Regions from separate parts of the Homo sapiens genome. Here all the other regions are linked to region 5. The links are contacts of gene promoters, found by promoter capture Hi-C in blood cells and fetal thymus (Javierre and others, 2016). All regions are on one chromosome and are shown on one strand. Each heading gives the region's core, a stretch centred on a gene start or on the middle of the fragment in contact. The rest is flanking DNA. Distances are from core to core; before and after follow the strand shown.

Region 1 (2,700 bases), core at 1-2,500, 4.1 Mb after region 5:
CTTTGGGAGGCTGACGTGAGAGGATCACTAGAGTCCAGGAGTCTGAGACCAGCCTAGGCAACATAGCAAGACCCTGCCTCTACAAAAATAAAATTAAAAAATTAGCTGGGGATGTTGGCACATGCTTGTAGTCCCAGCTATTCAGGAGGCTGAGGCAGGGGGATCACTTCAGCCTCGGAGGTCAAGCTGCAGTAAGCCAGCCTGGGTGACAGAGCAATGCCCTGTCTCACAAAAAAAAAAAAAATTAAGAGAAAACCTATCACTACAAGTAGTATGACTAACATCAAGAAGAAAACAAGCATGCCTACAATCATTGATTGCTACCTGTCACAATAGAACAAAGGAAGGAAATTATAGGAAGAAAGACTATGGGCCCGGGTGCGGTGGCTCACGCCTGTAATTCCAGCACTTTGGGAGGCCGAGGTGGGTGGATCACCTAAGGTCAGGAGTTCGAGACCAAGCTGGCCAACATGGTGAAATCCTGTCTCTACTAAAAATACAAAAATTAGTCGGGTGTGGTGGCAGGCGCCTGTAATCCCAGCTACTCGGGAGGCTGAGGCAGGAGAATCACTTGAACCCGGGAGGCAGAGGTTGCGGTGAGCCTAGATCATGTCATCGCACTCCAGCCTGGGGGACAAGTGTGAGACTTCATCTCAAAAAAAAAAAAGAAAAAAAAAAAAAAAAGCCGGCCGGGTGCGGTGGCTCACGCTTCTAATCCCAGCACTTTGGGAGGCCAAGGCTGGCAGATCACGAGGTAGGAGATCGAGACCATTCTGGTTAACCCGGTGAAACCCCGTCTCTATGAAAAATACAAAAAATTAGCCGGGCGTGGTGGCAGGCGCCTGTAGTCCCAGCTACTCAGGAGGCTGAGGCAGGAGAATGGCGTGAACCCGGGAGGCGGAGCTTGCAGTGAGCCGAGATTGCGCCACTGCACTCCAGCCTGGGCGACAGAGTGAGACTCCGTCTCAAAAAAAAGGTTCTGGAGAAGGAAGAAACTATTACTATTTGCATATGATTAGACTGAACTCAGCCTGCAGACCTTTTTATAACAGCAAAAGACTAGAAATAACATAAATGTCTATTAGTATCGGAATGATGTACCACAATGGAATGCTACGCCACTGTTAAAAAATAAAGAAAAAAAGAACAAGGAAGCTCTTTTGCTTTAGGTACCAACAAAGAAAGAGCTCTAAGAGAAATTGTGAAGTGAGGCCGGGCATGGTAGCTCATGCCTGTAATCCCAGCACTTTGGGAGGCTGAGGTGTGTGGACCACTTGAGGTCAGGAGTTGGAAACAAGCCTGGGCAACATGGTGAAGCCCCGTCTGTACTAAAAATACAAAAATTAGCCAGGCGTGGTGGCGTGCACCTGTAATCCCAGCTACTCGGGAGGCTGAAGCAGGACAATCACTTGAACCTGGGAGGCGAAGGTTGCAGTGAACTGAGATTATGCCACTACATTCCACCCTAGGTGACAGAGTGAGACTCTGCCTCAATTAAAAAAAAAATTGTGAAGTGAAAAAAAAAAAAACAGGATGAAGAATAGCAGTATGCTTCCATTTCTGTTTTTAAAAAGGGGGCTTGGCTGGGTATGGTGGCTCACACCTATAATCCCAGCACTTTGGGAGGACAAGGTGGGTGTATCACCTGAGGTCAGGAGTTTGAGACCAGCTTGAGCGACATGGCAAAACCTGTCTCTACAAAAAAATACAAAAATTAGCCAGGCATGGTGGCACATGCCTACAGTCCCAGCTACTCGGGAGGCGGAGGTGGGAGGGTGGCTTGAGCCCAAGAGGTCGAGGCTGCAGTGAGCCACGGTCATGCCATTGCACTCCACCCTGGGCAAAAGAGTGAGACCCTGTCTCAAAAAAAAAAAAAAATTAATTATGAATTTGCTTGCAATATGCATACAAATCTGAAATGACATATAAAAGTAATACTAATATTATTGGTGACAGTTGGTGAGAACAGATCAGACGGCGCCAAATACTTTTTAAATGTATCACCTATTCAAAAAAACTTATATAACTTAGTTAAAAATGGTCAAATCTCTTCAATGCAGCCTACCTCAGCTCCCAAGGCCCAATCAGATACAGCTCTCCAAACCTGCCAGTGCTGGTGAACGCGCTGCTGGGAGCACTGGCACCCCACAGTGGTTGTGGGAAGGGAAGGGAAGGGAAGGGAAGGGAAGTGAAGGGAAGGGAAGGGAAGGGTGCCCTCTCACCTCTATGGGGATGTAGAGCATGAATCCTGGCTCTCCTGTGTGCGTCATGCTCATCACCCGGATCCCATTTGCATAGCCCACACTCATCTCCTGCAGGGACAAAGGCAGCAGTCAGCCTGGGCACTCACATTACTTGTCAAGGGAGGGACGCCTGGGGAAACCTTTCATTAGTGCTGCACCCTCTGTTTACTGTTGAGGGAGACAGACGTCAAGGCAAGAATTTCATCCCGAAAGTGGTTAACTTCCAGGTCCTGAGGCACAGAGAATGGAGCACTGCCTATGTGACATCTCTGCTTGCTACTGTTACCATCTCAGGAGTTTTAGCCAAGCTGATGGTAGAGAGTGGAGGAAAGTCCTTGACAAGCACAAAATATTCCTCTTTGCCAGGTCCTTGTGTTAGTCGAGGGTAGCAGGCACAATGAGGACAAGGCGAGTGTCTTCTCTGGGGGAATCAGCAGACAAACCCTGGCCGCCTGCC
Region 2 (2,700 bases), core at 14-2,513, 3.0 Mb after region 5:
GGTACCACCAAAGTGCCTGTCTTAGAGAATGAAATCTGGACAGAGGATGTATTCAACAATCCTACTAGTGAGGTAAGTGGCTTGTGGCAGGATCAGTACTGGGTTCAGGTACATGATCCTCTCCCTGAAGGAGGTAAAGTATGACGGGAACTAAAAAAAAAAAAAACGAAAAGTCACATGTTAGAGCTTGAACAAAGGTCATGTCCAGGGATGAATCTCTAAGGATGGATTTGTTTGAGGTCATGTAGGTGTTGTCACAGTCATTGGTAGGGAAGAACTTTGGGGAAGAGTTAGATGGGTTACTATGATAATCAGAGCTGTCATTCACTGATGATTATGCTTTGTTATATGTTTTTTATATGCTAGTATGTTTTATCTTCTTCTTAAAAAATGATAGGCTTTTTTTTTTAATGAGAAGAAACCAAATCCAAGAGATGGAATTTGCCCAAGGGTGCTTATTAAGCCATAATTAGCAGAGCTGGAATTTGAACCCAGGTCTTGGATATCAAAGCCTTTTTCATTATTCCAGATTACTTGGTTAAATAACAGAGTATGCTGACTTTAGCCTTCCCATTTTATGGAGTTTGTCATGAGTGTGATCGTATTTGCTGCTCATGAGATTTCGCTCACTAATAAATTTGATTCATTTAATTATGTGTTTTCTCTTCCTAGATTTTAATTTGATTTGAAAATGAGTAAGTGCAGAAAGACACCAGTTCAGCAGCTAGCAAGTCCCGCGTCATTCAGCCCAGATATTCTTGCTGACATTTTTGAACTCTTTGCCAAGAACTTTTCTTATGGCAAGCCACTTAATAATGAGTGGCAGTTACCAGATCCCAGTGAGATTTTCACCTGTGACCACACTGAACTTAATGCATTTCTTGATTTGAAGAACTCCCTAAATGAAGTAAAAAACCTACTGAGTGATAAGAAACTGGATGAGTGGCATGAGCACACTGCTTTCACTAATAAAGCGGGGAAAATCATTTCTCATGTTAGAAAATCTGTGAATGCTGAACTTTGTACTCAAGCATGGTGTAAGTTCCATGAGATTTTGTGCAGCTTTCCACTTATTCCACAGGAAGCTTTTCAGAATGGAAAACTGAATTCTCTACACCTTTGTGAAGCTCCAGGAGCTTTTATAGCTAGTCTCAACCACTACTTAAAATCCCATCGGTTTCCTTGTCATTGGAGTTGGGTAGCGAATACTCTGAATCCATACCATGAAGCAAATGACGACCTCATGATGATTATGGATGACCGGCTTATTGCAAATACCTTGCACTGGTGGTACTTTGGTCCAGATAACACTGGTGATATCATGACCCTGAAATTCTTGACTGGACTTCAGAATTTCATAAGCAGCATGGCTACTGTTCACTTGGTCACTGCAGATGGGAGTTTTGATTGCCAAGGAAACCCAGGTGAACAAGAAGCTTTAGTTTCTTCTTTGCATTACTGTGAAGTTGTCACTGCTCTGACCACTCTTGGAAACGGTGGCTCTTTTGTTCTAAAGATGTTTACTATGTTTGAACATTGTTCCATAAACTTGATGTACCTGCTAAACTGTTGTTTTGACCAAGTCCATGTTTTCAAACCTGCTACTAGCAAGGCAGGAAACTCCGAAGTCTATGTGGTTTGCCTCCACTATAAGGGGAGAGAGGCCATCCATCCTCTGTTATCTAAGATGACCTTGAATTTTGGGACTGAAATGAAAAGGAAAGCCCTTTTTCCCCATCATGTGATTCCTGATTCTTTTCTTAAGAGACATGAAGAATGTTGTGTGTTCTTTCATAAATATCAGCTAGAGACTATTTCTGAAAACATTCGTCTATTTGAGTGCATGGGAAAGGCGGAACAAGAAAAGCTGAATAATTTAAGGGATTGTGCTATACAATATTTTATGCAAAAATTTCAACTGAAACATCTTTCCAGAAATAATTGGCTAGTAAAAAAATCTAGTATTGGTTGTAGTACAAATACAAAATGGTTTGGGCAGAGGAACAAATATTTTAAAACTTATAATGAAAGGAAGATGCTAGAAGCCCTTTCATGGAAAGATAAAGTAGCCAAAGGATACTTTAATAGTTGGGCTGAAGAACATGGTGTATATCATCCTGGGCAGAGTTCTATTTTAGAAGGAACAGCTTCCAATCTTGAGTGTCACTTATGGCATATTTTGGAGGGAAAGAAACTGCCAAAGGTAAAATGTTCTCCTTTTTGCAATGGTGAAATTTTAAAAACTCTTAATGAAGCAATTGAAAAGTCATTAGGAGGAGCTTTTAATTTGGATTCCAAGTTTAGGCCAAAACAGCAGTATTCTTGTTCTTGTCATGTTTTTTCTGAAGAACTGATATTTTCCGAGTTGTGTAGCCTTACTGAGTGCCTTCAGGATGAGCAGGTTGTAGTACCCAGCAATCAAATAAAGTGCCTGCTGGTGGGCTTTTCGACTCTCCGTAATATCAAAATGCATATACCGTTGGAAGTTCGACTCCTAGAATCAGCTGAACTCACAACTTTTAGCTGTTCATTGCTTCATGATGGAGATCCAACTTACCAGCGTTTATTTTTGGACTGCCTTCTACATTCATTGCGGGAGCTTCATACAGGAGATGTTATGATTTTGCCTGTACTTTCTTGCTTCACAAGATTTATGGCTGGTTTGATCTTTGTACTCCACAGTTGTTTTAGATTCATCAC
Region 3 (2,700 bases), core at 172-2,671, 4.2 Mb after region 5:
AGGGGCGAGTCAGGAGGTAGAAGTGTTCGCAGGCATGTAGCGGGATACTAACCGGCTCCTCGTTGGACAGACCCAGCTCGTATGCCCACTACAAATGGACAGGTTGATTTGTGGGTGGGAAGAGGAACAGAAATAAAAATGAGCAAGTTCAGCCTCTTGAGATTAATTCCAAGTGGCTTATGTGTGCTCTTGCTACAGTGTCAGGTGTGGGAAGTCAGCCTGCTTTAGTTCAATTATTTGGATGGGGAGCAATACTACATTTTTTAAGACATAAAAATTACTTTGAGATCAAAGGAAGAGATATTTACCAGCTAGTCAAAGGAGCTCATGGGAACCAAAGGAGGTCCTTTTGATAAAACGCCTGGGCTCAGCTACAAACCCCAAATAGCAATCACTAAATGAACTTCACATGGCAAAAGTATTTCTTAGTTCACTTCGGGATCATAGCATGGAAGGCAAGAGCCAATCTGCTTTAAAAGAAGCAGTGTCCTGGAAATTAGTGTCCACATTCCTGACACAATAAAATAGCCTAATATGTTATTTGCTAGGTTATAGAATGAAATGTAACATCAAGACCCAGTGCCAAGGATTCACGTCAATGCCTGACCATTTGCTGGCCTTCCTGACCAGGATAGCACCCATCAACCCAGTGTGGAGGAAGGACAAGGTCACACAGGCTTCTATTTGCAGACTAAGTGTAGGTTTCTGATTTAGAATACCCTACAAGAAACAGCGTAGTTACTGATATCTGTATAACCAATCACAATACTAATCTTACTTCTCTACACCAAAAAAATCTTGGAGACAAACGTTAAATAAGAACAGCAGTGTTGGTGCTGACCTACCTGGCCAGCACAGTTGACAAAATACTGGCATTCAATCTGTCCTTTATCGGTCTCCACTCCAGTAACTTGACCTTTTTTGACCATTACATGAAGAACAGATGTCCGGTCATAGATCTGAACACCTGTTCCAAGGTAAAGAAAGAGTTGGTGTTTCATCTGATGTTCCAGAATGAAGGCATGTGCAGCAGGTTCTCCACCCAGAAGAAACACTGACAAAGTCAAGTCAATGCTTTAATTTATTTTTTTATTTTATTTTTGAGATGGAGTCTTGCTTTGTCGCCAAGGGTGGAGTGTAGTCGTGCGATCTTGGCTCGCTCTCTGCCTCCTGGGTTCAAGCAATTCTCCTGCCTCAGCCTCTCAAGTAGCTGGGATTACAGGCATGCACCACCATGCCCGGCTAATTTTAGTATTTTTAATAGAGATGGGGTTTTACCATGTTGGTCAGCCTGGTCTTGAACTCCTGGCCTCAGGTGATCCGCCTGCCTTGGCCTCCCAAAGTGCTGGGATTACAGGCATGAGACACCACGCCCGGCTCAATGCTTTCATTTAAAAAAAACACAAAACCCTAGAATCACATCCTGAGACTATGTAAATGGGCCTTGTTCAAGATTGAAAATAGCAACTCAGTTTAAAAACAGACTTTGGAACACAATAATTAAATTCCTGGAATCATAAACTATGGAGCAGAGAGGAGAGGATGTAAATAGTGCGCCTTAAGTGCTAACCTGCTCATACCATGGATATGATACCCTGGACGCTAGTTAAGTCTTCCCCTCATTCAATGCAACTGGGCTCATGATTTCAGGTGTGGATTAAACTTCCAAGGTGTGTTTTCACCTTGAGCTTCTCAAGTCCTGTGGCGGAAAATATTACCTTAAGTCCAAAGGGCATTAATTGGCAGGGCACAGTGGCTCACGCCTGTAATCCCAGCACTTAGGGAGGCCGAGGCAGGTGGATCATCTGAGGTCAGGAGTTCAAGACCAGCCTGGCCAATATGGCGAAACCCCGTCTCTACTAAAAATACACAAAAAAATTAGCCGGGTGTAGTGGGGCACGCCTGTAGTCCCACCTACTCGGGAGGCTGAAGCAGGAGGATCACATGAACCCAGGAGGCGAAGGTTGCAGTGAGCCAAGATTGTGCCATTGCACTCCAGCCTGGGCGAAAAGAGTGAAGCTCTGTCTCCAAAAAAGGGGCATTAATTAGCACTAAAAGCAGTTCTTTAGAACTTTAAAAATGTGGCCCTGAGGGAAAACACTCATTAACAGATAAATAAAATTATAAGTGTTCAAAATGGAGGCTGAGTACCCCAAAGAGGATAATCTTTCCAAACTTGAGTTGGTGTCACTTCCTATTGTGAGACACTTCCTTAGGTAATGTCTTCCCTGCTAACCTATCTTAAGAAAATGCAAAAACCTGCTCACCATTTTGGGAGGCAGCACTTGCCAGGGCAAGAGCCACGTCAGCGGAAGACACCACTGCATCCTCGGGAACATGCATGGCCCCCACCAGGTCGTGCACGTTGAGGAGATGGTGAAGCTCGGCCACTTTCTTGGGGGAGATGATCTCAGAAGGGATACCTATAACACTGCCACAGAACACAAGGGACAATGACATTCACAGGCTCTTTGGCAGAGGCCAGTGTGGTAAAGTCAGGACACGCTTCTAGACTCTTACGTACTTCAGCCCTGCGTTGATGCGCTTCAGGGAGATCAGTCGGTCCTGAGTTTGGGCCAGAAAGATTGAGCCTGTCCTTGTGTAACCTGTAAGAAAAATGAGCCCAAATGAGACAGATCAGACCAAATGTAGGACAGGAGAGTGGAAAATCCACTAGATTATAGGTTAGAAGACCTGTGA
Region 4 (2,700 bases), core at 184-2,683, 3.8 Mb after region 5:
CCACGTCTGGGCCGGGCGCGGTGTCTCACACCTGTAATCCCAACACTTTGGGAGGCCAAGGCGGGTGGATCAAGGTCAGGAGATCGAGACCATCCTGGCTAACACAGTGAAACCCCGTCTCTACTAAAAATACAAAAAATTAGCTGGGCGCGGTGGCGGGCGCCTGTAGTTCCAGCTACTCGTGAGGCTGAGGCAGGAGAATGGCGTGAACCCGGAAAGCGGAGCTTGCAGTGAGCAGAGATCGCGCCACTGCACTCCAGCCTGGGCGACAAAGCGAGACACCGTCTCAAAAAAAGAAAAATTAGCCGGGCGTGGTGGCACGCGCCCGTAATCCCAGCTAGTCTACTCGGGAGGCTGAGGTAAGAGAATCGCTGGAACCCGGGAGGCAGAGATGGCAGTGAGCCGAGATCGCGCCACTGCTCTCCAGTCTGGGCGACAGACTGTGACTCCGTCACAAAAACAAAACAAAACAAAACAAAAAAAACTTCCCCCACGTCTGTTTACCATTATTACAAAAAGCTTGTATGATTGCTCACTGCATCTTCTCCATCCTCCAAGGAAACATCATCGCATTTAAACTCTGTCCTCCATTACGCAAACGAGAAAATAGAGGTTCAGAGGAGGAGACAAGTTGCCCAACTACCAAAATACAAATTCAAACCGGAGTCTTGGCTCTAAAGACTGTTTCCGTTATTTACGCTTTTAACACGCTCCATCTTTCTATCTTCCCCTCGGTGTACCATTTACTCTACCCAGAGGGAGACATCCATGCCTCCCGCTGCTTGTCACACCTCCCCCGTCTCAGAGTCCCCAGAAGTTAAAAGCAATCTCCACGAGCCCTATTTTGAGATAGAATATGTTCCCACACTGTGGATGGAAGCGAGAGATAACTGCAGGAAGCCGTTTTGGCGCCTCAACCATCCCTCGGTACCTCCTCCTGGTCCCCAGCCTCTCGGGCCTAGACTGCCCGTGACCCCCGCCAAAGTCTCGGGTCCCCCTTCCATATGGCCGGTCTCCGCCTCCCCGGGCCCGGGGAAGTCTCCAGGCTGTTTTTTTACCCTGCAGCGAGAAGGATGGTGTGGATATCCAACGGATGCTACCTCCCTTCAAAACTTAAGCCACCACCAACTCCAACATACTGGCGTCCGCCATTAGACCTCAAGACAGGGACATTCTGGTGGCGCGCGGCGGAAAAAGGCACCCAATCCGCGCCTGAAGAATATATATAATTTTTAAAAAATGCTTCCGTCTTGCTTCCACACGGCATTACAAATTATTTAAACATGCTTTATTGCTTTGCTTTTTCCAGGAGAATAGAAAATTAATACGTTTTTAGAAGTAGACTTTAAAAAAAAAAAACCATTAGAGTTCATTGGGCACTTCTGTGGGCAGCCCCAAATAGGCGCCAACGAAGAGGGGGCCTCGCGGGACCGGAAGTGCCGAATGGGGACCAAGATGGCGGACCTTGATTCGCCTCCGAAGCTGTCAGGGGTGCAGCAGCCGTCTGAGGGGGTGGGAGGTGGCCGCTGCTCCGAAATCTCCGCTGAGCTCATTCGCTCCCTGACAGAGCTGCAGGAGCTGGAGGCTGTATACGAACGGCTCTGCGGCGAGGAGGTGCGGGGTCGAGCCTCTTCTTTTTCATGGAGGATCTAGGGAGAGTGGGAGCCTTCAGTCGGGAAATCCGGGCTGTGGGAAACTCTCCTTGCTGGGGGATACAAAAAAGCGGGAAAACAAAGAAGCGGAAGCTAGTCGGGTATATGAGTAGTCCTGTCAACTCTTTTCACGCTGTCGGACGCGCCGAGCTTGTCTTCCCTGATACCTGGGCGATCTGCAGCCTCTCCTCCCTAGACCCCCGTTGATTTCCCTGATCCATGATCACCAGTTTCTCCACGGGAGTAAAGTTAGTCTGAGAGTATTTGCCAAATTGCTTGGTTCTCAAAATAATAAGCGCCCTTTTGCATTGGCTTAATTTACAAATTATGAAACGCTCTCATCCTGTTATTTAAGAGGGAAGCCTTTGCAGATTAACTTCTTGAAGCGTTTTAAGACTTCCTCTTGTGGGGAGTGATTTGGGGGTGTGATTTTAGCGTTTTGGTCAAATGCACATCTTTGTAGAGGTTTAGCTTTTAAGACTCAGACACAATTCTCTAATCTTGGACAAGTCACTTCATCTCTGGTACCCTTGATATTTTATCAAATGAGGGGTGTGGACTATTCTCCAATTCCTTTCAGTTCATAACGTTCTATTTCCTGCCTCCTTTAATTTTCAGTGGCAACTCGATGCTGTCAATTCACTTTCGAATGTCAGTTGGGTTCCTTGCTAGTCAAAAGAGATCTAAGCTCTAAGCTTGTCAGCTGTTTCCCAGACCAAACTTCTAGCAAAGTTGAGCACAAAAGGCAGTTTCAGCCTGAGGGAGAGGTGATCGTTGATATCTTTGAGTATTTTCAAGTATAAACTTGCACTAACTCTAGCAGTTTCTGATACGTTTTTCAGCAAGATGTGTGTGGTGTTTTTTGTTTTGTTTTGTTATTTTTAGAAACAGGGCCGCTCTCTGTTGCGCAGGCTGGAGTGCTGTTGTGCTGCAATCAGAATGGATGAAACCAGAGGCGCACACCACCGTGCCTGGCTAGTTTAGTGTGTGGGGCTTTTTTTGTCTGGCCTCAGCAAGATGTGTTTTAAAATTTAGTATCTTGCGGGGC
Region 5 (2,717 bases), core at 1-2,500:
GTCTCAGCCTCCCAAAATGCTGGGATTACAGGCGTGAGCCACCATGCTCGGCCTCGTGTTTTAAATAAAAACTGAAACCTCATCTATATATACATTTTTTTTTTTGAGACGGAGTCTAATCAGATTCCCATTTAAAAATGTTAATGGGTTAAAACCACAGCTGATCCAGGAAGCCCTTCGGGGTGCTGAGCATCATCCAGATTTCGATAACAGGAACTCGGTCAAATGAAGACAAACATAGATACGACCCTGGGGGCGGGGGTCAGGGCCAAATTGAAGCTAGCCCCCTTAGCCCCACTCCGGCATCATCCAGGCATCATTCACTTTGCATCATTCACATTTCGGTGAAATCAACTTGGTTAAACGAGGATAAACATAAATACGACCCTGGGGCCGGGGTCAGGGCCAAATGAAGGTAGCCACCCTGCACCCCACTCCAGCATCATCCATATTTCGGTGAAACCAATTCGGTCAAACGAAGATAAACATAGCCTTGGGGCGGGGCTAAATGGAGCTAGCCCACTCCGCCCCACCCAAGCATCATCCAGACATCAGTCACTTTGCATTATTCACATTTCAGTGAAATCAACTGAGTCAAATGAAGATACGACCCTGGGGTCGGGGGTCAGAGCCAAATGAAGCTAGCCCGCCTCCGCCCCACCCTGGCTTTATCCAGATTTCGGCAAAACGAACTTCAAAACGAAGTGACAGACACGAGCTTGGGGGCGGGGGTCAGGGCCAACTAAAGCTAGCCGCATCTCCCGACCCCCAGCATCATCCAGATTTCGGTAAAACGAACTTCGGCAAAACGAACTCGGAAAGGGAACTCTGTAAAACAAACAGGCTAAACGGAACAGGCAGCCAAGGCCCCGAAGTGGCGGCGGCTGGGGCAGGGGCGGGAGGCTGGATGACTCCGGCATCGTGAGCCGACGCTGGTCTGGACTCGTGAACAAGTAAGGGTCACCAGCCGCCCTATCTGCGTCCCCAGCTCGTCCGCGGCCGCCGCGCCATCTCCAGCGTGCCCGTGACTCAGCAGCGGCTGCGCCGCCGGCCCAGCTATAGGGCGCTCGCTCACCGGTTGAAATGATCCACCACACTGAGCAGCACCAGGGGGTGGACCACCACCTTCTGCACTGCCAGCTCCGGCATCGCGACACACCCCGCTCGCCAGGCCTGGCTCCCTGCCACACGCAAACACCGGCAGCAGTAGCGGTCACCGGTACCCTTTCAGGCCCAGTTCCTCTTCTTCCGGTTCGTCAGCCCTCGCGCGGCCTCCTTCTTCCGCTCCCAGAGTGCCTCGCGCGGCGGGCCCGGATCTTCGCCACCGCCGTCATTTGTGGGCGGAGAAAGGGCTGGAGAAAGGCGGGAATCGCCCCTCGTCCCTCGCCGTGCGTTTCCCTGGACTTAAGGGCCGAAGGGACACCGGCGACTTGACCTCCTGGTATTGGCCTGTACCGTCACCTGCAGAGGCTTTTCGCCTCAATTCCTTCCCAGCACCCTCCCCCCGCCACCCCCCCAAAGTAAATAGTTGACAGTTTACTTTTCTACCACCCGGAAGAAGTTCACTTTTGCTTCAGGTCAAAATCCTCCGCGATTTCTGAGAGGAACTTTAAATCTCTAACATAAGAGCACGCTTTTAATGTAATTTGGTAATTTATCTCATTCTCGTTTTCATTGCCGGGGGAATTTCTCCTTTATCTTTACTGTGGACACTTTGCAATGAACGTGGCAACCTGCAGGTTTCCACCTGTCGTTATATTACTGCGTAACTAGGGCTAGAAGAACGCAATTGTGCCGTTGCTTTTGAAATCAAAATTTACAGAAGCGTTGAAGAAAAGACGGAAGGAAGGCAGTAAGGAAGTATGTTGTGATATGTAGCTAGGAAAGAGAAGACTAAGGTAGACAAAGACTTAAGCTTATTTGCAGGAGGCAAATTATAAGAAAAATCATACAGGTTTATATCGTCTCATTTGAAGTTGCTGTTTCTGTAAACGAAAACAGTACTTAAGCAACCTGAATTATTTACTTATATTTTGTTCTGTTTTTAAACAATTTTTGCTTTCCCTTTATCACCAGAGGATTTTCCCAACATTTTGGCCTCTTGTCTTTTTAAGGTGGACTTCCTGATCTCCAAATGTCAAGGGACACACTCAGTCTCTCTTATTTGTGGGTGGTGAAAAACATTAGCAAAGATTAGACTGAAATTTGGCCACCAATGAGAGACATTAATGTAGTCAGGAGTTTGAATTTGTCTGCATGTGAATTTATCTTTGTCTTCTGTCTGCAACTTGGCTTTATTTTCAGATTTTCTGCTAGATCTGCAAGGAAGTAAATGGCAGGATATGCTTAATATTCATAATTAATTGAAGAGACTCAATGCTATCTTTATTTTTTCATTTTTTTTTTTGGTACAGTTGGTGTCTCACTATGTTGTCCAAGCTGGTCTTAAACCCCCAGCCTCAAGCAATCCTCCCACCTCAGCCTCCCAAACTGCTGGGATTACAGGTGTGAGCTACTGTGCCTGGCCATTCATTCTTAATTATAACTAGAAAGATATAAGGGTTATGTTAATGGGGAAAGAAAACTAAGAATTATTGAATCTATTGAGTGCCTATAATATGCCAGCCCTGGTTCAGACGCAAATATTTAATCCTTTTAATTAATGCTTCTCAAACTTTGATATGCTTACAAATCACCAGGGGACCTTGTTAAAATTC

What was found. Contacts are between HindIII fragments. The CHiCAGO score rates a contact against its expected background, and 5 or more counts as called.
Region 1: a contact is called between a fragment that was not itself captured here and the fragment with the promoter of PSMD7 in region 5, in 15 of 17 cell types (naive B cells, naive CD8 T cells, M1 macrophages and 12 more). The highest score is 30.1, in naive B cells.
Region 2: a contact is called between a fragment that was not itself captured here and the fragment with the promoter of PSMD7 in region 5, in 1 of 17 cell types (total CD8 T cells). The highest score is 5.0, in total CD8 T cells.
Region 3: a fragment that was not itself captured here is called in contact with the fragment with the promoter of PSMD7 in region 5 in 5 of 17 cell types (total CD4 T cells, naive CD8 T cells, erythroblasts and 2 more); the score reaches 13.0 in total CD4 T cells.
Region 4: the fragment with the promoter of COG4 here is called in contact with the fragment with the promoter of PSMD7 in region 5 in 1 of 17 cell types (monocytes); the score reaches 6.4 in monocytes.

The regions. Positions count from the first base shown.
Region 1 is chr16:70,148,076-70,150,775 of GRCh38, reverse strand. PDPR (pyruvate dehydrogenase phosphatase regulatory subunit) reads right to left here. Exons shown (of 19, transcript NM_017990.5): 17 at 2,223-2,312. Among named protein-coding and RNA genes, the nearest start is that of CLEC18C, 24 kb to the left of the region's middle. The HindIII fragment of the contact is 4,530 bases long and covers 1-2,700 here.
Region 2 is chr16:71,283,912-71,286,611 of GRCh38, reverse strand. CMTR2 (cap methyltransferase 2) reads left to right here. Exons shown (of 3, transcript NM_018348.6): 3 at 673-2,700. The coding sequence starts at 692. Among named protein-coding and RNA genes, the nearest start is that of CMTR2, 4.1 kb to the left of the region's middle. The HindIII fragment of the contact is 351 bases long and covers 1,088-1,438 here.
Region 3 is chr16:70,128,690-70,131,389 of GRCh38, reverse strand. PDPR (pyruvate dehydrogenase phosphatase regulatory subunit) reads right to left here. Exons shown (of 19, transcript NM_017990.5): 5 at 2,525-2,606; 6 at 2,268-2,431; 7 at 846-967; 8 at 1-88. Among named protein-coding and RNA genes, the nearest start is that of PDPR, 16 kb to the right of the region's middle. The HindIII fragment of the contact is 3,871 bases long and covers 1-2,700 here.
Region 4 is chr16:70,522,287-70,524,986 of GRCh38, reverse strand. COG4 (component of oligomeric golgi complex 4) reads left to right here and starts at 1,433. Exons shown (of 19, transcript NM_015386.3): 1 at 1,433-1,614. The coding sequence starts at 1,444. SF3B3 (splicing factor 3b subunit 3) reads right to left here and starts at 1,171. Exons shown (of 26, transcript NM_012426.5): 1 at 1,059-1,171. RefSeq lists enhancers at 1-627, 1,661-1,800. The HindIII fragment of the contact is 1,828 bases long and covers 522-2,349 here.
Region 5 is chr16:74,295,347-74,298,063 of GRCh38, reverse strand. It overlaps PSMD7 (proteasome 26S subunit, non-ATPase 7), which reads right to left and starts at 1,250. Exons shown (of 7, transcript NM_002811.5): 1 at 1,076-1,250. The coding sequence starts at 1,149. RefSeq lists enhancers at 236-1,125, 1,026-1,335, 1,126-2,017. The HindIII fragment of the contact is 3,645 bases long and covers 1-1,917 here.